Regions from separate parts of the Homo sapiens genome. Here regions 2, 3, 4, 5, 6 and 7 are each linked to region 1. The links are contacts of gene promoters, found by promoter capture Hi-C in blood cells and fetal thymus (Javierre and others, 2016). All regions are on one chromosome and are shown on one strand. The core of a region is centred on a gene start or on the middle of the fragment in contact, and the rest is flanking DNA. Distances in the headings are between cores, read along the strand shown.

What was found. The method cuts DNA at HindIII sites, captures the fragments that hold promoters and counts their contacts. A CHiCAGO score of 5 or more calls a contact.
Region 2: a fragment that was not itself captured here is called in contact with the fragment with the promoter of GBE1 in region 1 in 1 of 17 cell types (non-activated CD4 T cells); the score reaches 5.6 in non-activated CD4 T cells.
Region 3: a contact is called between a fragment that was not itself captured here and the fragment with the promoter of GBE1 in region 1, in 2 of 17 cell types (M0 macrophages and monocytes). The highest score is 6.7, in M0 macrophages.
Region 4: a fragment that was not itself captured here is called in contact with the fragment with the promoter of GBE1 in region 1 in 1 of 17 cell types (monocytes); the score reaches 5.3 in monocytes.
Region 5: a contact is called between a fragment that was not itself captured here and the fragment with the promoter of GBE1 in region 1, in 2 of 17 cell types (non-activated CD4 T cells and naive CD8 T cells). The highest score is 6.1, in non-activated CD4 T cells.
Region 6: a fragment that was not itself captured here is called in contact with the fragment with the promoter of GBE1 in region 1 in 1 of 17 cell types (M0 macrophages); the score reaches 7.8 in M0 macrophages.
Region 7: a contact is called between a fragment that was not itself captured here and the fragment with the promoter of GBE1 in region 1, in 2 of 17 cell types (total CD4 T cells and non-activated CD4 T cells). The highest score is 5.9, in total CD4 T cells.

What each region holds. Positions count from the first base shown.
Region 1 is chr3:81,759,818-81,763,235 of GRCh38, reverse strand. It overlaps GBE1 (1,4-alpha-glucan branching enzyme 1), which reads left to right and starts at 1,591. Exons shown (of 16, transcript NM_000158.4): 1 at 1,591-1,861. The coding sequence starts at 1,719. RefSeq lists silencers at 1,363-1,462, 1,963-2,042 and enhancers at 1,118-1,726, 1,513-1,802, 2,143-2,312. The HindIII fragment of the contact is 5,689 bases long and covers 890-3,418 here.
Region 2 is chr3:81,512,411-81,515,828 of GRCh38, reverse strand. The region is part of intron 14 of GBE1 (1,4-alpha-glucan branching enzyme 1); the gene reads left to right. Among named protein-coding and RNA genes, the nearest start is that of GBE1, 250 kb to the left of the region's middle. The HindIII fragment of the contact is 2,694 bases long and covers 203-2,896 here.
Region 3 is chr3:82,002,491-82,005,908 of GRCh38, reverse strand. All of the region lies in intron 1 of LINC02008 (long intergenic non-protein coding RNA 2008), which reads right to left. Among named protein-coding and RNA genes, the nearest start is that of LINC02008, 18 kb to the right of the region's middle. The HindIII fragment of the contact is 4,659 bases long and covers 1-3,418 here.
Region 4 is chr3:81,973,487-81,976,904 of GRCh38, reverse strand. LOC124906199 (a long non-coding RNA gene) reads left to right here. Exons shown (of 3, transcript XR_007096262.1): 1 at 1-8; 2 at 196-260. Among named protein-coding and RNA genes, the nearest start is that of LINC02008, 11 kb to the left of the region's middle. The HindIII fragment of the contact is 618 bases long and covers 1,621-2,238 here.
Region 5 is chr3:81,568,404-81,571,821 of GRCh38, reverse strand. All of the region lies in intron 12 of GBE1 (1,4-alpha-glucan branching enzyme 1), which reads left to right. Among named protein-coding and RNA genes, the nearest start is that of GBE1, 190 kb to the left of the region's middle. The HindIII fragment of the contact is 3,132 bases long and covers 163-3,294 here.
Region 6 is chr3:81,951,181-81,954,598 of GRCh38, reverse strand. It overlaps LOC105377179 (a long non-coding RNA gene), which reads right to left. Exons shown (of 4, transcript XR_940999.2): 4 at 1,335-1,479. Among named protein-coding and RNA genes, the nearest start is that of LINC02008, 33 kb to the left of the region's middle. The HindIII fragment of the contact is 994 bases long and covers 1,151-2,144 here.
Region 7 is chr3:81,587,828-81,591,245 of GRCh38, reverse strand. It overlaps GBE1 (1,4-alpha-glucan branching enzyme 1), which reads left to right. Exons shown (of 16, transcript NM_000158.4): 9 at 82-209. Among named protein-coding and RNA genes, the nearest start is that of GBE1, 170 kb to the left of the region's middle. The HindIII fragment of the contact is 2,038 bases long and covers 611-2,648 here.

The sequences.
Region 1 (3,418 bases), core at 342-2,841:
TTCATATGCACATTAAAGTGTGAGAAACACTGGTACAGAGAATGGAGTAGAGGTGAGAAAGAGTAGAAGAGGGGAAGTCAGTTAGAGAGCTACATTCTGGTCCAAGTGAAGGAAAACAGTGGCCTGCATAAGAGTGACAGCAGGAAGGATGAGAAGACGGATTCTAGGTCACGTTTTGCAGACAGTTTGTTTAGGTCTCCTAGCCAGCTAAATGGAAATCTCAGTAGACAGGCAGTGATACAAGCCTGGGTTTCTGAAAAAAGTTTAGGCTTGGAGATGTAGATCTGTGGGTCTGTTATTAATAGTTGTCCTGCTTCGGGTTTTTATTTTTTTTTAATTTTCTTCCTTTTTTAGTGCTTTATATTTTACAAATGTCTGCAGCAGTTTTTTGTCATCTTTATGGAAAACAAGGCACGTCTTAAAGTCGTTCAAGTCCTTCACTTTTTCACACTGAGGTCTGTCTTCATATCCACTTATCTTTCAAGTCTATGAAACCCCTTATAAAAACTTTCCTTTGAAATATTTTAAAATTCAAGGCCCACGGCTGATTAATACTGTTTCTCCTCCATAACCCCTAGGATCCTCCAGTTCTGGGTTTTAACAAGAAAAATATCCTCAATCCTCTCTAGTTTCTAGGTGTAAAGCAGCTTGGACCCTCCTGGGTTTGGTGGGTCCATCTCTCTTGGAGTCCAACTCTGTATTCCTAAAAAGCAATTATTGAAATAGAAGCTAGTCAGTTAATGGCAATAAAAGAAGGGAATTCCAAGTGGGAGCTTCCCAAGCCAAGAGGAAGAGAGGTTTCTTGCCTTATCACTGTAAGTGGCAGAGTGGAGTTCCAATTCAATGATATCATTTGTGTTATCAAAGGTAGTTTAATCGTTGAAAAGCTTGTTAACAATTATAAACACAGGCAAATGCCTTTTCCTTTTTGGCCTTACGGAGAATGAGAAAAGTTCTTCCCATGGCTAAAATTCTTAGCTGTTGGTAATGCAGAAAAGAGTACCAGAACAGCAGAATTCCAACGGTATTCCAGGATTCTGTGTCTTGGTTAATTTTAAATTCACGTGACCTGGCAAACTTAGGAGAGTCCTGGTTGTAAGAGGTATTAACATTTTCAGCAGTAGTACTCTAGCTACACTTGACTGTTCCCCTCTCTGTGAATTTACATGATATGTTTGAAATACTGCCCCTCAAAAGTCTCAGAACTTTGAGAAATACGGTCCTTTCCAAAAAAACCCCTTATGTCCAATTTGAAGGGGTCGCTGTCAGTGGGTGCTTAAGTGGGTAAAGAAAAGCCAAGAATATGTCAGGGTGAGGAAGGCCAAGGCTGAGCGAGGTCAGCTTGGGACCCACCTCCTAGAATGACCTCCGCCAGCAGGAAAAAACCGTTAAGGGGAGGAAAGGGCAGGTCCCTGCGGCCTCCAGGTGCCAGCCGCGTGAGTGGGCGGAGAGGCCTCGGTGCCTCCTACCCGCTCCGGACGTGCGTCCCGGCATCACCCCGGGATCCGCTCCTCCCCGCTGGCGGGGGGAGAAAGGGCAGGAGGCCTTCCGTCCCGGCTATAAAGGGCCCCGGACCGCCGCGGCTCGCCTCGGCTTGCCTCGACACGCCTAGGCGCCCTCCGGCTCCGCCCTAGCCGCCGCGTCCCAGCTAGAGCTCCAGCGCCCGCTCAGGCCCCACTCGACCTCTCGGGCCTCGGCTACTTGGACTGCGGCGGAATATGGCGGCTCCGATGACTCCCGCGGCTCGGCCCGAGGACTACGAGGCGGCGCTCAATGCCGCCCTGGCTGACGTGCCCGAACTGGCCAGACTCCTGGAGATCGACCCGTACTTGAAGCCCTACGCCGTGGACTTCCAGCGCAGGTACCGCCGGAATCCCACCACCCCCACTTAGACAGGCAGCCCGCCTCCCAGGAGCCGTCTCGGGACACGGGCCGCCCCTCGGCCCTCGCGCGCCAACCCCGCCCCAGGCGGGGAGGAACCTGAGTGGGCGGGGCTCGGGGTGACTCGGGTAACCGGGTTCTGTGGCTTCCGTAGTGGCAGGTTTGACAGCGCTGGTGCCCGGAGCGGGCGCTGAAGAAACTTCTTTCCTCATCCCCTTTCCCCTCTGTTCTAATCAGCGGTCTTGCGCCATAGGGTACGTGCTGTGGCTCCAACACTTATTCCCCAGAGTGCTGCTGGGGAGTGACTCACCGCCGCTGCAGGTTTTCTGACTTTGGCACCCACTAGCGTGGGCCTGTGGAGTAACGTGGGCATAACTCCTGGCACGTGTAATTACGCATTTAAAACTTTCTAGTTTATTTCATAGCAAATGTTGTGATTTTATATCTAAGAGGATTCCTTCAGGCAGACACTATATCCTTTTGTTTTTTCCTTGCTAATATTCCTCATTTAGGGGAAGATTACACCTACATTGATCAATTTTTTCTCCCCTTGGATCAACATTGAGAAGTTAAATGTACATCAACATTTGTCCGTGTGTGACTTTAACCATCTTGAAGAGGGAGAAAGGTCAGGAAAGCAACTTTTACAGGCCAATGTCGTTTTAGCTTGTCTTCTACCATTGTGTACCATACAACTTTAGTTACTGGGCTAATAATTCTATTCATAAGTTCCACTAAAAAGGTACAGGTCTTTTTCTGTTGTCGTTGTTGTTTGAAGTAAAAGAGCTATTATACAAGTTGTAATAGTTATACTTGTGAGGTTACCCCATTTTGATTTAATAGTTTCTCCCCTTTTAGGAGAGACACTGCAGAATGGAAACTATCCTGGCAACAGAATATACATGGCCAATTTTTCGAGTGATGGAAAACATCCAACTAGTTAACTGGCATGAAGGAGCGTTGAGAGTAATGAAAATGGGTTGATTTGGAGTTTGAAAAAAGCCCAGCAAATTGTTTGTGTCCTAGCATTTTCAGGTATTAAATGCATTCAAATCAGCAAGTGTTTATTGAGGAACTCCTATAAATAAAACACTGCTCTAGGGATTGTAAGGGATGTGAAGTTTCATTCTTGAGCTTGTATATAGTAGTGAATGAGGCCTCTGTAAAATAATCACCTTGAGCTGTCCCTCACTTAATCAGATGATTATGCTCTTATATAAACCATATGAGGAGCAGCCTTGTGAAATTGTTTTCAGAATTTACAGTATATGCTTTCAGAGAAACTTAGTGCATAATCGTCATAGGTTTAAGGTTGGATTTGATTTAGAAATAGTCAGAAAAAATTTAGAACAAAAGATAGTGATTAAAGGTAGTGGTTAGATTTTTTTTTTGATGTCCTTGTAACCATGACATTAATTTACCTGTGTGCTTTGTAAAAGGACACTTAAGATATTTATTAAAGAAGAGTTGTGGAAATGTTTTATCTACACCCCCTTCCTTTTTTTTTTAAATGACACAAACAGATTAACATTCTTTA
Region 2 (3,418 bases), core at 300-2,799, 250 kb after region 1:
CTTAGATCCAGACCACCAAAAACTTCTTCCTATCAGCAGTAGGCTGGTGTTCACTGTCCTATCACTCATGCGTTCACTAGAGTAGCACTTCTTATTTCTTTGAAGAACTTTTCCTTTGCGTTCACAACTTGGCTAACTCTTTGGCATAAGGGACCTAGCCTTTGTCCTGTCTCAACTTTGAACATGCCTTTCTCACTAAGCTTAATCATTTCTAGTTTTTGATTTAAAGTGAGAGACATGCCCCTCTTCTTTTCATTTGAACTCCTAGAGGCTATTGTAGGGTTATTAATTGGGCTAAATTCTATATGGTCTTAGACAATACGGAGGCCCAAGAAAAGGGGAAGAGACAAGGGAACGGCCAGTAGGTTGGAGGAGTCAACACACACATTTATTAAGTTTGTGGTTGCATATGTGCATGATTTGTGGTGCCCCAAAACAATTACAATAGTAACAAGGATCACTGGTCACAGATCATCATCATAGACATAATGATAATGTAAAAATAATATAATTATGAATAGACAATCATATATTAATATATATTAATAATGAAAAAGTTTGAAATAATGCAAGAACTACCAAAATGTGACACAGAGACACAAAGTGAACACATGCTATTGGAAAATGGCACGAATACACTTGCTGGATGCAGCGTTGCTACAAATCTTCAATTTGTAAAAATGTGTATTTGTAAAGTGCAATAAAGTGCGATAAAATGAGCTATGCTGGTGCAGTAGTATCATTGGCCTGAAAGATTTCACATTGAGCCTTTCCTTTTAAAGTTAGGCTTTACTTAATTTATCCAAAATATATGTTTTTTTTTCTATTTAAAAAATAAATTGTATTAGTCATCTTTATACCTGATACCAGTGTGTTTTAAATAGAGCATTCTATGTCTAAACTAAATTTATGACATGGATGTTATATTACTTTTCCTTCTGGCCAGTAGAAATTACCTTTTTCAATGAGTATCTCCTGCCTGCCTACGTGAGATATTATTCGTGTTTCTGACATTTTCCGTGAAGCTCTTCTTAATCAGAATCTCACAGGATCAAACTGAGTGGTCAGTGTTTTATTTACATAAAAGTATTACCTGAGTATCCCAGATGATTTCTTAAAATTAAGATGTGATATAATTACTGGCTCGCTAAAATTACCTACGGGCTCCTAAGCATTTTTGAAAGCTGCAACCAAAAGAAGTTTCTGTTTCTCAGAGAAAGTTGGAAATATTAGAGCCAAAAACAGTGTGTTCTTGGAAGCAGTGGATTCAGTTGTAATCATGCATAAGAACCATCTCTAATTCTATTAATGTAGTTTCTGTTGGCCTAATGATGGGAAAATGCCTAATTAATTCCTATAAATAAGCATTAATTTACAAAATTAATTATGGTTATTTTTTGTAGTTATGTGGTATCAGCTGTTGAATAAGGAAAGTGTTTAGATAATATCAAATAAAATTATTTAATTAACATATAACTGAATGAAATGATTACACTCAGTACGTTTTATTGTCACACAATGATCATTTTATTTCAAGAACATTAATTAAAATGAAAAATTATTATGTTTGTATGTAAAATTATAAACATTACTGGGTTTTTTTTTCTCATGTGTTCTTTATTATTTAGAGAGAGAGCCAATTTTCACTTTGCCAGCCTCCCTATTAACATCTGTCCTTTTTGCCAGCTGAAGAAAACAAAGGAAAAACAATTTTCTCCTGTAGTAGCATTATTTTCTAATTCTGAAACATTATTTTCTTCAGTTTGTTCTCTACTTCTAACATTTTTATTTCCCATTGGCTCATGTAACAAAGGTCTCCAGAGGTAATAGGTATTTCTTGTTCTTATATTTGTAAACATAAAGAAATTTGCTCTCATTGCAAGGATAGTGGTTAGCTTGAGCTCTAGAATATTGACTATCTGAGGTTCAAGTTCCATCTCTGCCACTTAGTTTTGTTTTGAAAATAGCCTCTTTGTTTCTTGGTTATTATCTCTAGAACACCTATTCATAGAATTGTTGTCAGAATTAAATTAGTTCATGATTAGTTAACATGCATGCAAGGCTTAACAACAGTGTCGCCCACGTTTGAGCTTAGCAAGTAGTAAGGGTAATGGACATCCTTACTGTCATCATCTTCTAAAAATGCATTAGAAACTTTATAATAAAAATGAATTTTTATAAAAAAGAAAGACAAATAGGTACTAATCCTGTCTGTTGTCTTTTTTCTATTGTCCTACTTTTTGTTTTTTGTTTTTTTTTTGGGGGAACAAAACAATAAACACCTTTATTACATGGGTGAAGACAAAACGAGGATATATTTGCCTTTCCGGGCCTTGATTTTCCTAAGACAGAACTCCAACTCTTTGCCCTCTAGCACATAGTGTTTTGTTTTTTGATTTTTGTTTTTTCGCATGTCCTAGTTCCCATTTCACCACGACACAGTGATTCCTTTCAGTCCTTTCGCAGTACTGGAATTGAAACTCTTCTGTTCCCTGTTAAATCTCTTCCTCACTCTTGTACTATTTGCCCACCTTTCTTTCTTATTTCCCTTTCTCTGTATCCTGCAGCACTGTCTTGATTTCTTTTTCTTTCCACCTATTCTTCATGTTATCTTTTTTAAGATCTAAATCCATTTATTCATTTTTCTTGCACTTTTCCCTGAAAAATTCACCCACCCTTCAGCTATCAGCTCTATGAAGATGTTCCCTAATGATTCTCCCCACCTTGACCTATGCCCTATTCACCAAGCAGTGGGCAATTTTGTGATGTTTAATGACTGTTAGGCAAAACTGGGCAGCATGGAATTATAAATTTTTGAAACTGAAAAACTCTAGTATAACCTAGCTCAGCCCATTCAAATTAAACAAAATTACTTGGGTTAAGATATATATAAGCTTATTTTTTTTCAATTTTTATGAGAATTTAATTAGTCGTATGAATCATGTGTCTGAAATACAAGCTTATTTTAAGAGATCAAAATTAGTACCAAAAGTTAAATTTGCATGGCAATTTACAATATGCGAATACTTTTACTTACATTAACCCATCTTATCCTCACATCATCTCCAGTGATACTGGTTAGGCAAGCATTTTTTGTCCTCAATCTACATGTGAGGATCAGAAAGATTTATAATTTTCACAAGGTCGTATTTCTAGTCATTGAATAAATGTGATTTAAATCTAGTTTCTCTAAATTCAGTACAGTTTTACATTTGGTCACCAGATAATTCATCTTTTTGTTGCCCTCTAGAAATGCCATTGAAGTACATGAAGTGTGTCTCACTAATTTTGGTTTTTTTCTCTATTTATATTTGTAGAGGTTAATGATGCCTTTGACTAAATGTTTTTCTGCAGGGTAATACCATCCTGGTTTCTGACACTCAAAAGCACAGATGAATGTTAGTGGAAAAATTTTTTC
Region 3 (3,418 bases), core at 610-3,109, 240 kb before region 1:
GCTCAGGCACATAGTTCCACTAAACACTAATATTTCTTATATAGACATAGTAAAGATTAAGAGCTGGGTTAGACAGGGAAAACAACATCAGGTAAAGACAAGGAAGAATCCATGGAAAGTTTCCTATCACCTTTCCCCAACCTGACAGCTCACACAGAGCACACTGTCCCTCTAGAAAACAAACAAACAAAAAAAATATAGCATCAAGTGTGAATTTTTCTGCCAACTGAAGCCCATTTAAAACTCAGAGTTTAGGAGTTTTACTAGGGGCTGGGAACATAGACGCTTTTGCCTAGCAACTACCAGAATTCCAGACTTACAAAAAGAAAGCAGACATTACAATAAATTCCACTGTTTATACGAATGTCTAGGCCCAGAGAAATTACCTTACCAGTTAAGGGAGTGCTTCAGAAGCCAAGTTCCCAGGTATCAGTCAGTGGTCAAATCTTGCAAATGAGCTTTCTAAAGAGAGGAGCCTCAGATGGTCTAGGTGAATGTTTCTGCACGTAACACCCCTCCCCCCACCAAATGCTTTTGACACTCTAATCTATTGATTGTTTACTGTTACCAACAAATAATTAATAAGAATCCAGTATAATTGGTTTGTGACTACAAAAACCAATTTATGATTCAAATACATGTTTAAGTAAGCCTGTTTTGATTTAGCTAACAAAACCAAATTGTATAAATCACTTATCTCCTCCAATAATTACTATTTTCATTTCTGCAATAAAATACTGAGAAATTCAACTTACTATTTTCAAGTTCTACATTCTATTTGACTATGATTTTGAGTAAACATTTAATTCTTTTTAATCAAGTTGCTACATTAGGAGAGCTGGTACATTTTAAATTAAGCAATATTACTGTAAGTTACCTGAAGGAAAAAAAAATATGTAACGGATATATTTGAAAAGGAAAAACAAAACTGACTCATGGCAGAATCCATTTTGTAATAGTTCTAAACCCTGATATTCACAAATGTGAGTGTAGGTTAATAACTGCTCTTTATTCATCAAATGTTTTGTCTATGCATGTTTTGTTAAAGGAGCAATTATCTATTCAGAGTTCTAACAGAGATCTGGAAAACTGCTTGCCTGAAAGAGCAAAATTGGTCTTACGTGACTTCAGATATATCATGATATAATAGACATACTGCAATAATGACACACAGACACTCAACTATGGAACTGATGATATTTTAAGATTCCTCATAGAAACTGAGTACAAATAGAGACAGATAATCACAATCTGAATTAATTTTATTACAATTAAATCTGTTGTAAAATTAGTAAAAGAAAATCTCCTACTGAATGCAAAGAGAATCAAGGTCATCTGAGGTGATACATTTCTGCAGACAACCAGGAGTGAGTCTATTTTCTCCTTCCTCTCACACACATCGTGCTTTGGCTGTGGGGTAATTCATGAAAGGAGAAAACAAGTACAGAATTTCATAGTGAAATAAGATTTTCTCTTTCAATCGTGAAATTATAATTGGCCAATTGCTGGCAGCTGCCTTTAGAATTTGTGTTTTCCAAATGTTAATAGGCCTCAAGTTAGCAGTAAATGTGAACACTAAATGGAAATCCTTTGTTTTCTTTTGTTTTATTAGGGCACAAATAGAATCCTTGCTTTTATGGTTTATTCTTGTCATTTGCCAAACTAAAAGACTATGCCATACATTATACCATAAGCAATCTTCTACTAAATAGTCTTTAAACTACTCAGTTCATGATTATTTCAAATATCAAAAGCCAGTTCTTGTAAAATGTGGAGTTTCATCAAAAAGACAATATTATTTAAAACATGTATTTCCAGTATGTTTATTTTATTTGATATTCATTTTTTCTAGAAATCTGTATATCTATATATAGATATACAGATATACACATATACAGATCTATATAGCTATATATATATATATACACGATAGATAGATAGATGCCTGCATTACAGCCATTCCAAAGCACAGGCAGCAAAAAATCTACTATATTTATATATTTTTAATGTAGAGATTATTTTCATAATTGGAGCCAGGATGTAATTATTTTTTCCTAAGCCTTTCTCCAGTATTGGCTAAACTAGCATCATAAAATATTACTTCGACCATAACAAGCCACTCCAAAAAAGTCCTATTTGTTACAATAAAAACATTCATTTATAAAACAAAAATAAAATCACTTACTTAAAAACTTAAAAAGAGAACTTCATAAGGGACATCCCCCATATTTAAAATTATCATGACATTGCATTTATGGTCAGAATGAAAGCATAATGTAGAAATTAAATTAGGTTTCCTTTTTGAATTAACATCCCAATTTCTTCCTGGATTGGTTAACTGCATTTGTCACCATGGACACTTTCTTCACTATTCAGAATTTTCAACTGTATTTAAAACAGATCACATTCATTTCCTCTGCATCAATATACTAACTAGTCAATGGAAATCGAAACACAACCAAAATAGATACTTTATACTGCTGCCAAGAGGAGAGGGTTCAAAGCAGAGGTGTAATTAAAAGTATGACTAAGCAGATAGAATCACATTAAAGAGGCTTCTCACAAGACAGAAAAAAATTTGGAAAAAAGAAGCAAGTGCCCCCCTAAATATGATATTGCCATCTCTGCCTGAATCATTTGAGCACAAGAATCTCAGCTTTCTGGTACAGGCCCCAGTTGCTATAGAAACTTACAACTGGGAGCTAAATAAAGTAATTTCTATGCTAGTGTTGGTGTCTATAACTTCAGCACCTGATGCTAACCAAATTGTGCTCAATAAACAAATTTAAACTTTAAAAGCCTGCAATGTGATCACAATGCTTTCTATACAACTGATTAATCTCAACTGATCTTGGCTCAGAGCACAAGAACATAAGAAATCTCAGAAACAGAAAAAGACTACTTAAGGCAAATACGCCTGCATCCTTTGTTTTTCTTATCTGATTTCCTAGTTTATCCCCATATCTCTATCCTGTCTTAGTCTGAAAATAAAAAGTCAGCTAGCTCACTCCCTAACTCATCAATAATCCTGCTTTCACTGATCCCTTTTAGACAATTTATTCTATATTAAACCACTCCCTCTTGGCCTCCCCTTTTTCATTTATCCTACTCTAAACCTAAAGAACAAAGAGATCAGGCAGCTCAATAGATACTTATTTCTTAATCCTCCCAGCTGGGCCTATTATTGCTGCACATTTGATTTTAAGATTATTCACTATTTGGCAAGAAATCAAGAATCTGAAATAGCCCCTTGATGCCCGTTTGTGTGGGCATGTCAGGCCCTTGCCCATTATGTCACCAAGCAGTGTTTTTGGCTGTGGTAATGCTCTCTTATTAAGCGAAATGAGACCACAGGGCCTAAATATATGTTTGCATTCTTCCCCAGCATCACTTTAGAAAGGATATACTATATAAGCCC
Region 4 (3,418 bases), core at 680-3,179, 210 kb before region 1:
GGAAGAAGGTTTGGTTCCATGTAGAAATATTTTTAGAGAACTGAAAAAGCAAAATGATAGGAATTATGATGTTTCTGTAAAGTTACACCAAGTGTGCCTGCCTCTCCTGCCTCCTCTCTCAACTGTTACACATTTTCCATCTCTGTCACCCCTGAGATATCAAGACTAACCCCTCCTCTTTCTCCTCCTTCTTAGCCTACTCAATGGGGAAACCATGAGGATGAAGACTTTTATAATGATTCATTTCCACTTCATAAACAGTAAATGTATTTTCTATTTTTTATAATTTTCTTAATAACATTTTCTTTAGCTTGTTTTAAGAACACAATATATAATACATATAACACAAAAAATATGTGTTAGTCAAATATTTACATTATTGGTAAGGCTTCTGGTCAACAGTACGTCATTAGTAAAGTTTTGGGGGAGTCAAAAGTTATATGTGAATTTTTGACTGCACAGGAGTCGGTACCCTTAACCCCCACATTGTTCAAAGATCAACGGCAGTTCTGTTTCAGCAGGAAAAAAAAATTCTCAAAATTCTAAACCAAAACATAGAGGATACATTTTACTTCTTGCCAAAAGAAGATACCCATTTTTTAAATTCTACAAAGGATTTCCCATACTCGAACTGTTGCCTGATCTCCCTTTAAAAAACCACCTTTGCAATGCTTAGCAGATATTAAGTATTATTAACTATTTACGGTAATATTTGCCTACCCCTGTAACTTTTACCATAAAATATAATATTATGAAATTCAACTAGCCTCATACATAAAGGTATTTAATTTTAGTTTGAAGGACTTATTTCATATAAACAATAGCATGGATTGAACATGCATCTACCTTCAATTGAGTTGCATGAATTAATTACAGAACGACTGCCTACTACTATTGAAGTCTCTAAAATATGCCTTATGAATCATTAGCAATTTTTTTCTAGTATTTGTGATTTTAGAATTACTTCTATCTCATTTCCTCCTATTCTTTAGCTCTGTAATTTTCTTACTCCTTGATGTAAGAGAACACTACTGTTACTCCTGAAGAGACCTAAAAGAGGAGAAAACACCAGAAACAATGACAAAGACTCTAAGAAGCTACTATGTTGGCTCTGTAAAAATAATCTTATTTTACTCAAATATTTTAGAGTTATATTTGTAACATTACCATTCCATGTACGTAGATTTCTTCCTTGAACTTCTATTTACTGAGGGCCTAGCAGGCAGAACACTGAGATGGACGGGCAGTTAGAGACAGTACAGTGACTCACTTAGGCCCATGCTTGGCACCCACATTTTAGCTAACTTCAGTTAACACCCTCCTCTCCCAACCTAATTCCAGTTTGAATTCAAGACTTAACTTATATTTTACCTTTTCCTTGAAAGCATGGCTCACCCTTCTCTACTCCCCTGTAATATTCTTTACAAAATCGTAGCATGCCACTTAAGATAGTTTCATCATCAACTGGTCCTGGACTAGTATCCCAGAAAATAAAAGCTCCTGGAGAATGGAGTAAGATATGCATCTTTTAATTCTTGGTCCCAAGCGCAGTGCCTGGCACAGAGTGGATACACAGCTCAAGTTTATGAACAGGCTAATTAATGAATGAGTTAGGAAGCTTCAATTACTAATAATATTATTATGATATACAAATATATAACAGAAACAGACATTAATGGATGTTGCTACTTTCTTTTAGTAACGTTCCATCTTTTCACAATTTTATTTTAAAAGGTTGTCCTAGGGCAGAAACTTCAGCATTTATCAACTTCATAACTGTAAAATCAATAACCAGTATTTTCAGAGCACTCATAAAAATGAGGTTAACAAAAGAGAAAAAAAAATAAGGATGGCCAGTCAGAAAAGAGAAACTGAAAGAAAACGAGTTCTGTTCTACCTCAGTTAATGGTAATATATGTCTCCAACGAATTCCCTTCCCTCTAAGCCAAGGCTCTCCTTTTGTCATTGTGATTACTAAGTGCATGATAGTCTCCTGGTTAACTGATGATTCTGACACAGCACACACACAAGCACTGTTAATCCTTTACTCCTAAAGCCTTCACCAGTGCACACAGTGAACAGTGAGGTTTGGTCACCTGGGAGCACTTCTAATTTCTTCTATTTCATATTCATATTCAATGTTAGAAGGATTTACTCCTATTGGGCATCCTCAACATGTTTCTAGATTGTCACTAAGTCGCCATTAGAAATATTACTAACTGTGAGAAACATTAAGCTTGGGATTCTATAGTTTTATAATTCTTAATCGAATGAATTTCCCCAAAATTAATCTAATAGGTCATTCCTAAGGAATTCATTATGCACCTATGTAAAGACAACTCTCTGAGTGTCTGAAAAGAAAGTAGAAAACATACTTTGTTACCTCAAGGAGTTTATATTCTTATTTTATAGTGTTTCTATGAGTTGTAAAATTGTAAATTGACTGCTTTTCTGAGATCAATCCATATTTACTCTCAATTAACACTACATCCTAGATGAGAACTAATGAAAGATAGATTTTATTTTCATGGAGTAGCCACTTATTTTTCCCTTTGTTTTACTCTCCTCTCTAATAATTCTCAATCTGCCTTGCAATTTATGTGCCAATGCTTGCTGCTTGACCTCAGCATCCGCTTTCCAAATGCTTCACCACGTGCCCTGATTCTGTGCGAGACAGTGAAAAATTCTGTCTGAGATGTAAGGGACGATCGGCAATTTAAAAATATATATTTTCCTGTGTTCTCACTTTCTTCTGAGAAGTCTTTCATTCTACTTCTGAGTGAGTTGATTGATTTCGAACTAGTTTAAACTCGAGGTCTGGAGCAACAAGCTGAGAAAAAATGATAGAGAGATATTTTTAAAGTGCATTGGTTTTATCTTCTGATTCATTCAATAGAAAAGCTCTTTTATGGATAAAAGTTCCTTTTTGTAAGCTGTAGTACTCTCAGTGAAGCATTACAAAAAAGAAGAAACTAGTGAAATGCTGACAGTTTAATACAATTAAGTGTAAAAGATGCAGTGAAGGTTGAACAGGAATGATTTGGGCTTTATTTGTGGTATTCTTTCTTTCTCTTCCTATGTGCGTATGTGCATGCATGTGTGTTTCCGAATTAGTTCAGTAAGTGAAGCAGTAAGCTTTAACTGTGAGTAGTGAGTGTATAACAGATAAATATAGACAAGTTTAAAAAGAAAATCTGACCTTCAATAAAGTTAACAAAAAGGCGAAGTTTTCTTCCCATTCCTGCAATTAGAATACCTCTCACTACTCTTAAGTAAAATTACAAGCTGGTAAAATGTTAAGGACCTCCTCAAAAGATCTCCTTTACCTCCCTGATGTCTTGAAATCTCATAAAAAACTTTCTGCCTTTCCTTTAAAGCTTTAGTTCTTATATAAATAAAGATATCCTCTGAGAGGGAT
Region 5 (3,418 bases), core at 479-2,978, 190 kb after region 1:
TTTTGTTTTCCACCCTGGTTTGACTTCTTCTTTAGTTTCATAACGTATAGGTAAAGATTCAAATGTAGAGTGACCTGAATCACTTTTAGTACTGTCATGTTAATATTCCACTTGTTCAGAATACTTTGAACTAAAGTAAAAATTATTCTTGGAACAGAAGCTTTACTTTCATCAGTTGTCATTTTCTTCTTCCTCCTGGGGATTGTAGTGTTATAGAAGAGCACTTTTTAAATGAGTATAGCTTCACTCTATTTGAAATTTAATGCTTTTTATATAACTCTCCGGGTATACCTCGAAACATAAATGATTCACATTTCTCATTTAAAAAAATACTGAACTAGCAGACTTAAATCAAGAAAACCAGCAACATTTCACTTCTGTAATGTAGCTCAGTGCTCCATATAACTGAAAACCTGTGTTGTCATTATAAAACATATTCCCCATGACATGAGATGTTAACACATAAGTTGAAATATCAGAAGAAATCTGGAATCAACTAAACCCATTGGTTTATTTGTTTGCTCATTCATTCCTTAATTCATTCAAATCAAACTCATTATTTCCATGTCTAATGTCTTCCCTCTTCAACGGAGAAAAGTAATAAAAGGAGGAAATAAGTAAAAAGGTATATGAGGAGCTGTGTGTGCAGATAACGCTATGGGACATGATGTAGGAAGTCAGACTCCTGGAATTCTGTCTCTTTTCCTATCCTTCCACCTTGAATTTACCTCCTTTTTCCCTCCATTTTATTTTTGTTTGTTTCAGAGTAATATGTTGCTTTTCCTGTTAAAGAAGACTTTAGATCCTGAGTGTATACTGTCTTGACTTTAAAAGCCTAATTCCTACTATTAAAAGCAATCATGTTATCATTATCTTTTATATAGGGCACTTGGTAGAAAATAAACATGGAGTTATTTTTCTACTTGCCAGCATGTATGGGGACACATTTACAGATATAATTATGTTTATGGTTTTTTAGGCTCTTTAGAAACCCATACCTTCTTTTATTCTAACTGAATTAAGAGAATTAAGAACTAGTGGTGTTCCAATTCAGGCTTTTAAAGACATACTGTATACACATGATCAATGAACTTATAGTGCAATGCCCACCCCTTTATGAAGGCCTATAACATCCTTTATGATCCAACTACTGCCTACCTTTCCACCCAGATATCTCTGCTTCCTACTTCTTGAGTACTAAGTTACAATTACACCAGTCTCCAATTTCATTTCCTGATACACAGGAAGTAAAAAGTAGGCAGGCGTTAAATTATAAAGATCATGCACTTTTTGAAAATACCTGTGGTAACTTTATGCAACTTTACTTTGTGTGAAATCCATCAACCTTCATCTTCTCCCTCTTAAGATTTGGGAATATCTTTCATGCTTGGAGATTCATAACATCTTGCTCACACTTATGAGAAACATCTGTAATTTTAGTACAACAATCATATCCTGAGAGCCAATAGATCAGTTATGAGTTCTGAATCTGTGTTGGCAATCAGGATACTTTGAACAAATGGTACAAATTCTTAATCCCATAGATTTCTGTAAAATATGTCAACTGCATGCCTTTAAGAATTTTTTTTTCTAATTTAACATTCTGTTTCTTAGGTTAATTAGAAGTTATCACTGTAAAAGAAACACCTAGTGACCGTATATTTTAGTCTGAAAATTAATATTGTCTTTGGCTTTATAAAAATAAGTAAGCAGGCCAGTCATGGTGGCTCACACCTGTAATCCCAGCACTTTGGGAGGCTGAGGTGGGTGGATTACCTGAGGTCAGGAGTTTGAGACCAGCCTGGCAAGTTAAATCCTATCTCTTCTAAAAATACAGAAAATTAGCCAGGTGTAGTGGCAGGCACCTGTAATCCCAGCTACTCGGGAGGCTGAGGCAGAGAATCTCTTGAACCTGGGAGGTGGAGGTTGCAGTGAGCTAAGATCACACCATTACACTCCGGCCTGGGCAACAAGAGCAAAATCTTGAAATTAAAAAAATAAAATAAAATAAGTAAGCAAAGAAAAGTGGCAATTATTTTCTTTATTAGAAATCAATGTTTGAAACAGTTTTTCAGTTAAGTGTTTACTAATGTGTTGTATTTGTGTGATAGATACTCCGTCTGCTCTCTCATAGCTGTGGTCGTGACTGCTAGTTTTCTCCATTAACACTTTTCCTCCAAATTTTAACTGGGTACATGGATGGCCAGAATAACAAGCACATTCCCCAGGTTCTTTGGAAGCCTGCTGAGGTCATGTGACCAGCAGTTATGGCCAGAAGGATGTTAATGGTAGTGCTGTATAAGCAACTCACAGGTCAAGCTCTTAAATGGCAAGGGCATGAACATCTCTGACCCCTTGCCACATCTTCTACTCACTGGTGGAATGCCATATCATGTAAATGGCAGAACAACAAGGTCAAAAAATATTAGTTGGCCTTTACATATTGCTATGTATTACTGCTATAAGAGAAATCTTTTTAAATGGCATATTTCACAGTTTACATGTCCTGTAACATTTTTTATCTTAGCATTGAAACCAAAGTAAAATTTAATTCCTAATGTCCTACATTTAAATTAGTTTTTTTAATTCCCCTATTGTTTACCCTTATTAGTGCTAATGTCAGTAATAACTAAAAACATTAAAAAATTAGTTTTCAAATGTAATTTGGACATTTGGGAAAAATTAAATTTTTATCATATAAATATAAATGTTCCATAAAACAGTTGTGTCACTAGTGAATTGAAGTAAGATGTTAAGTATAGCTCCTTTCTAATATTGGTCACATGTAATTTGGTATTTTTTTTAGATCTTTAAAATGTCAATTCATATTTTGGGGGGGTGGTAGCTGGAATGTTTATGGCATTTTAATAGTCAATAGTTTCTCCTAGATAGCTCACAATCTGTGTATACATGTTATCTCTCCATTTAGCTCACAATCTGTGTATAAATGTTATCTCTCCATTTATATATGTATATATATACACACACATACATATATATGTCTTCACATATACTCACATGCACATATATATATATACACACACACACGTTCGTGTCTAACACAGATACAGACACACAATATTTTTTAAGTCTTTTTCCTCCCTTAAGTCAACCTTTTAAGAACAATCCTTAACGCATTTGGGAACTTTTGGAATGCTTGCTTTCATTCACTCATTCATTAACTCAGGTAGTTACTAAGTACACATTCCGTACTAGGAATTGTTTTAGTTACTCTACTAAATGCTTGACATGCAAAGTGGTCAGGATAAATATAGCCTCTTTCCTCAGGAAGCTTAATTTCTGTTAAGGGCAACAGAGAGAAATGGCAAAACAAAACAAAACAAATAAAAAACCTGCAAATGATAAGTGACACAAAGAAAACAAAAACATTGTTAAAATTGAGAACACAATTTTGGGA
Region 6 (3,418 bases), core at 398-2,897, 190 kb before region 1:
GTCCCAATATAGTACTTTTCTTGGCCAAGTCAGTACATTATTCTTGGATTTGTGAATAATGTGGCTTTTTAAGAAAAAGATTGAGACAGCAAGGTAAATATGTGTAACAGGATCTGTGGAATTATGGTTACTTTAGGTGATTATTTTATCTTTTTAACCACTGATCTGCAAGAGAGAAAAATGTTTTAAAATTTTTTGAAATTGGACTAGTTTTTAGTAATTCTCTGTTTGAAGAGATACTGACCTGCATGACATCAAATATGAAGGGGATAATTTAGCTAGTTAAGCATTCAGTGAGGATTCAACTGGGTCAGAGCAATATCTTCTTTCATGTAGGAAAGTACTTCAAATTTTGTAACAAGTGAGGATAGGAATGTGGTCTAGTAAATTTATAATTTCTTCATTCAGTATTTCTCTAAATGAGAGAACACATAAGGCTTTTACATTCCCTGTGCTTTTACTGAAGGTATAAATCCCTCACTCTCTCTCTCTCTCTCTCTCTCTGTGTGTGTGTGTGTGTGTGTGTGTGTTTATGTACACAGCAAACATTCTAGCCGGGTGCGGTGGCTCACACCTGTAATCCCAGCACTTTGGGAGGCCAAGGCAGGTGGATCACTTGAGGTCAGGAATTTGAGACCAGCCTGGCCAACATGGTGAAACCCCATCTCTACCAAAACTATAAAAATCAGCTGGGTGTGGTGGCGGGTGCCTGTAATCCCAGCTACTCAGGAGACTGAGGCAGGAGAATCAATGAAACCCAGGAGGTGGAGGTTGCAGTGAGCCGAGATCACGCCATTGCACTCCAGCCTGGGTAACAAGAGCAAAACTCCGTCTCAAAAAAAAAAAAAAATCGATTTTTTCAACTCAGGAAGCAATAGTAATGAGACATTTCTGAATGCCCCTGCACTCAACACAAATTTTATGATGAAAAAAATGTAACACAGTCATATGACACAATATTTCCCCTATTTTACAGACTGTATGAATGTGTGTGTATCTGTTCTCTCTCTTTTTAAATAATTTTTTTCTGTAAGTTTTCCAAGACATTAAAGTACTACTAAAGAATTTTAACCCTCTTTTAATACAAGAATTTGGCAACAAAATGGTCCCATAAATATGAATGACTTTTTAAACACTAATGTTTGAAGCTTTTAAAATAGAATTCTGGAGTGTGATGTTTCATAAGGATCACACAAAATCCTATAGAGAGCAATATGACTTTGAGTGGGGAAAGAGGGATGTACCACATATGGCTTACAAATTGCTTCATCGGATTCTTCACATTTGCAAAAGTCAACAACAGCAATTCCGATTGGCTCAACAAGTTTAGGCAATTACCTTACAGATGCAATAACAGTGCGGAAAGTTCAGCTCAGTTTCTGCAAGCGCTAGTCCAAATGAGAATTGCGAGCAAAGCAGTGAGTAGTGATTTCTCCCCCAAGTTCTTAATGCTCCAGGCAAGAGTTTCAATCCAAAGGGCTGTTGAGAAAACGGACAAATACTGAGCAATGGGTAGTGATTGCAGTGCAGGCTGCTGCAGGCACTGGTAGAGAGGAAATAACACTTATCAGAAGCAAAAATAAAAGATGACGGAATAATAAAAGTAAGACTATTGGTGAAAAATAATATTTTTGTAAAATGATAAATGCAGAGAACAATATGTTCTCTCGAGACATAAAAACTTTTATAAAGAAGTCATCTAATCTTTAGAGGGCTAGAAGTGTTAATAATGCACTTGGGGATGTTTAAGTTATTGTTACTGGTTTGCTGATAATGCTGTTTTTCGCTTCAAAATGGCTTCTGGGTAAGTAACAATCTTCCATTTAAAATCTGTCTGCCCTGCTGACACTCTCTGATCATATTGCTTACTCAGACCAGGTGTTTCATGAAACCAGCTTTAAGTGCCAATAATGAAGCACCTTAGAGGGTCTATGTCTCAGCACAGATGTATGTAGTTTTGAAGTCTGAAATCTCCGGTGTCCTCAAATTTGGAAATTTAAAGCAAAGAGCAAATAGTTTTCTTGTGTAATGTTAATGCCTTTCTCTTCTTCTTTAGAAAATACGTGGGCTTCATGTGTTAGAAATGGATGTTATTTTCCCTGCATTATGGCACTGTACGAAAAGATCTGTGAGGCAGAGAAGCTTTTATTCTCATTATACAGTATATGTGGAAGCACTAAGAAATATGAAATCCTTCACTGGGGCAGAGTAAAAGATTTTCATTTCAGCTGGAGAGGAAATGTGCCAAAGTGGCTGAAAATAATTCAAGTAATTGGCAAAGAGCTGTACTCTAAGGAGGCTTTTGGTGTAATTTGATTTTGTGCCTTTTAGGGGAGCAAGTGAGATATGAGTCTATCTGCCCCTGAGGGCCAAGAGATTTTTTAACATTATGGGATCCTTAAGGTAGATGACGATGAATCACAGTGTCAAAAAGACAATCTAGACTTGTGATATCCTTAAGAAATAATAATAATAATAAGGATAACGCTCAACGGAGTTAGAGAATGTCCCTTATGGTGTGTAGTTTGTGCTCTGCCAAAACACTGAGAAAACAATCTTACTTAAAAGCTAGATGCTCCTCTGCCTACAAATTTAGCATAGGATTATTGTTAAATGCCATAAATGCTGCCAATAATAAAGGATGAAAATAACCAACTGGGTCAGAATTAGTTTTGTATTGACGGGCACCCACAGCATCACCAAGTCAGAGAAACTTGCAAAGCAGCCAAGTTTGTTTTGGCCAACTCCCTCTTAAGTCCCTATCAACTTCCCCTCTCCTTATGGCCTCTTCGCAGATCTTGGATCTTCTTCAAACAGAGGCTTAGATCTCTATTCATTTTCAGTTTATTCCTCTCATAGTGCAAAGAAAAAGGCAGCTTTACGTGTTACTTTATTTTGGAAGACGCCATTTCCTTCAAAGTAATTTCAGCAGTGAAACTTTAAGCATAATTCCAAAATATAATATTTTCAGTAATGGACTTTTAAGCATTTTTTTTTACACAAGGGGTCCTTAAACATTCTTTTTCTGCAACTTAAATGTTAGGCAGGCTCAGACTATATTAATTCTCACATAGAATAAGTAGAAGATTTGAATTGTTCATTCACTCCAAGAATTTGCAGGTAACTTGTAACTTCAGCGCTGTGTATGGTTACTTTCTTTTCTCTGGTTTATTCACAAAATTAAGGAAGAGAAAGAAAGCGCTGCATGAGATCCCTCCAGGACAAGGCCACACAGGTATAGCACAGTATATGAATACCCGGGCTGTAGGGCACTCTCCTACCAGCAGGGCCATACTAAACTGCAGAGTCCCCAACCCGCCGACCCCGTTTTCCCATAGCTCAGTGGTTCTCAAACTTTAGCCCACATCTAAATTATCTGAGGGCTTGTTTAAGAACAGATTGCTGGTTTCCAGCCCCC
Region 7 (3,418 bases), core at 380-2,879, 170 kb after region 1:
AACTAATTGGTGAATGTATTTGTGCAGAGTTAAGACTTGCTTGTTAACATAATATATCCGTATTGATTTTCTTTTTCTAAGGTCAAGGTTTCTCAGGTGATTACAGTGAATATTTCGGACTACAAGTAGATGAAGATGCCTTGACTTACCTCATGTTGGCAAATCATTTGGTTCACACGCTGTGTCCCGATTCTATAACAATAGCTGAGGTAAAGCCATAGTGAAGTCTTACCTTCTGACCCCCTTTAATAGAGAGTATTTTGTCAGCATACAGTATTTGATTAATCAATCTCATGTTGTCAATAATTGCGTAAATGAAATTCTACCCTGAGTATAGTGCAGCTATCTTGTATGGGTGGCACATTATTTAGAATTCACTGTTTCCCTATTAGAAGATAATGTATACTAATTACTTGTCACCATTCTGTTGTTAAAAAAGAAAATGCCAGTGGTTGGAGAGTTAAATGTCCTAATCAGTGGACAGGCCCTTCGCTATGAGACCTTCAGCAGAGAAAAGAATTGAATATTAATGTGTGTCTGTCCATTTATTATTATTTTTTTCTTTTTTGGCTCAATCATTAAAGATAGGATGGATTGCTGCCTGCAAGCTTCTCTGAAGCCTTTCTTGTTCTGATGTGATTACCTTTCTTGTTTATGTTATTGCTCTCAGATTGCCAAATGTTCACTAGTTATTCATGATTGTTGAAGGTTCATGATTAACTGTCCCAAAGCTGCACTGTAATGATATAATTCCATATATGCATAATTGACAATTCCCCTCTTGGTGATAAATGTGATAAATTAAGAAGTTTGTTAAATGCTTATGCTAATTTAGATTTAGTGCTAAAATCCCTCTGGTTTTCTAAGTTCTCTAACTAGGAATTATTATTAAAATTGAATTTAGCATGTTAAAACTGTTCTATACAAAGTATAGTGGTTGAGATATAAAAATAGTAAGACTACTGTTAAAAATAGTTAGAATTAAGGTGTGTTTTTACATTGTTGGTGTTTAGCTTATTGGCATGAAATGGAATAGTCTCCTTCCTGTAGTATTTATTTTTTGTATAGACTGTTTTTATATCCACCATTTCTCAAAATCAGAAATCTCCAATTTTATAAATGGTATGATTTCACCGCTTGGATAGAGGAGAATAGTTTTATTCCCTTCAGGCATTTTACTTTTTAAGTATTTTCTGGGAATAAAGCAGTAGCCCTAAATTCCTGAAATTCGTTCTTATATACAATTAAAAAACAAACAACCTACCATACAATTTAGACACCCAGTATTTTTTCACAGTCATGACCTACCTACGTTTGATCATAGCACATCTTACTAATACTTGTGCTAATATTTTTTGTGCTGAATATCTTTAACATCAATCAGAGTGTATTTTAAACTTTTGCCTTATGTATATTTGAATTTTATATGTCAAACATCAAAAAATTAATTATTTTGTCAATGATATTTATGGCAATCCAAAGCAGAGATATTACAAATGACAAATTACTACAAACAATTAATGACAGCACAAATCAAAAGTGAGTACTGAAGAAAAAGAAGCAATGATTTAATACATGAAAGTTAAAATTGTTACATTGATCTTTCCATTCATTTCAAGTAAAATAGTTTCATCATCTAGGGAGCTCTGGTCTGATTATCAGTGTTTCTACCAATGAAACTTTGAGACTTTAGCCTACTTTATATTACTTGGTTTTAGATTTTTTTTTTTTTTAAAAAAAGATGTGCCTTCAATTTATTCCACTTAAATTGAAAACTACTTCAATTTCAATACGTCACTTTTCTGTCTAGCGGGAGTCTCTTCCAAATGTAGAATTGATCCCCATGAACTTTTTTTTTTTTAAGAAAAGGAATGTATTTGAACGAATAAGCAATGTAATTTTATTTAAATTCCTTTAGTAGAAATATGAATTTATTTATAATGACAATTACAAAAATTGCAACCTTATTTTGCTCAAGTTTATCTACCATTTTACATTATTATATTTGCTATATTAATTAAAACATTTTTGATTGATGTATCTTTCCCTCTGGAATGGTTATAAGTGCTCTTTAGATAGTAAAAAATTAGAACTATTTTAATTTCATCCCAAACACAGAATCATTTTCATATGCCATATGAATAGGCATCAATTGTTTTATATTTAGAGTATGTTTATTTTGATGACCTTTATGATTTACCTTTTTTTTCTTAAAAATTTTAAAAGAACAGTCACAAACTTTCCACCTTCAAAAGGAGGGCTGAAACAACTCATATGCATTAATGAGGCAACTTTCTAGAAGTCAGATTTAGGAGTCAAGACTATATGATTGTTACCAAATCACCAGGGGTTTAGTCTAGGTCCTGCTGCTTGCTGCACAGAAAGCCAATCACGGAGACAATGATTATTGCCGTAGAAGAAGGCTTTGATCAGTCTCAAATCCATCTCTCTTACCAACTAAAATTAGAGGTTTATATAGTAAGAAATAAATGTAACAATGTGTAAGAAAACAGAACTAGAGAGGGGTAAGGAAGCAATCATGAGGAATGACCGGTCTGGCATCTCATTGCATGCCATGATTTGGTGAGCTTCAGTTCTTTGATACTTTTTTTTGAGAAGACTTGAGGGACAAATGTAGGTTTCAAGCTTTTCAAAAGGATTCAATTCTATGTTTATCCAAAAAAATATGTCTATGGGATGTTTGGGTTTCATGATTACCATATGTTTTTCTTAGCAGATTCTATTTCCTAAAACAACATTGGGACTGGATACAGAACATGCCTTAATATTTTCTTGAGAAAATTCATCTTGATCTTTAATACCAGTCCATCACCAGTCATTCTTGACAGTTTGGTCTTTCAAAACTCTTTTCAGAAGGCATTGTGTCTGTAATTCTAGTTCCTAATATGGTGCCTGATATTTAATGCATATTTATCCAATCCTGTCTGTGGAAATATGACTTATATTTTGATAAATAGAATGATTGAAATGGCTTCTTTTCTACTGATCTTTTTTCTACTTTATAAACCATGAAGAACTATGCAGAAATAAGATTACTGGCAAACATTTTATTTTCTTATGGATGTATTCTACCATATAATATATTTACTTATACCTTCCTTCCATAAGAAAAAAAAAAAAAGAAGCATTTGACCTGAGTCTTAGAGAGCCTATGGTATGTGATAGTCTTTTATAGGAAGTAAGGGTCATAATCTAAGGAAGACTTTGGGCATTGACAGATGCAGAAAAGCTCGTAACAAGTACATGCAAGAGGGAATATTTCAAAGTGGCCGAAGTACTTAGTAATTAAAATGAAATAGTAGGAAATAATGGTGGAAAGATGTCTTTCCATTTCACTTTCTGTGCACTTTAGTTAATGATCACAACTACATCACATGGTCATTTCATAATTATGTTT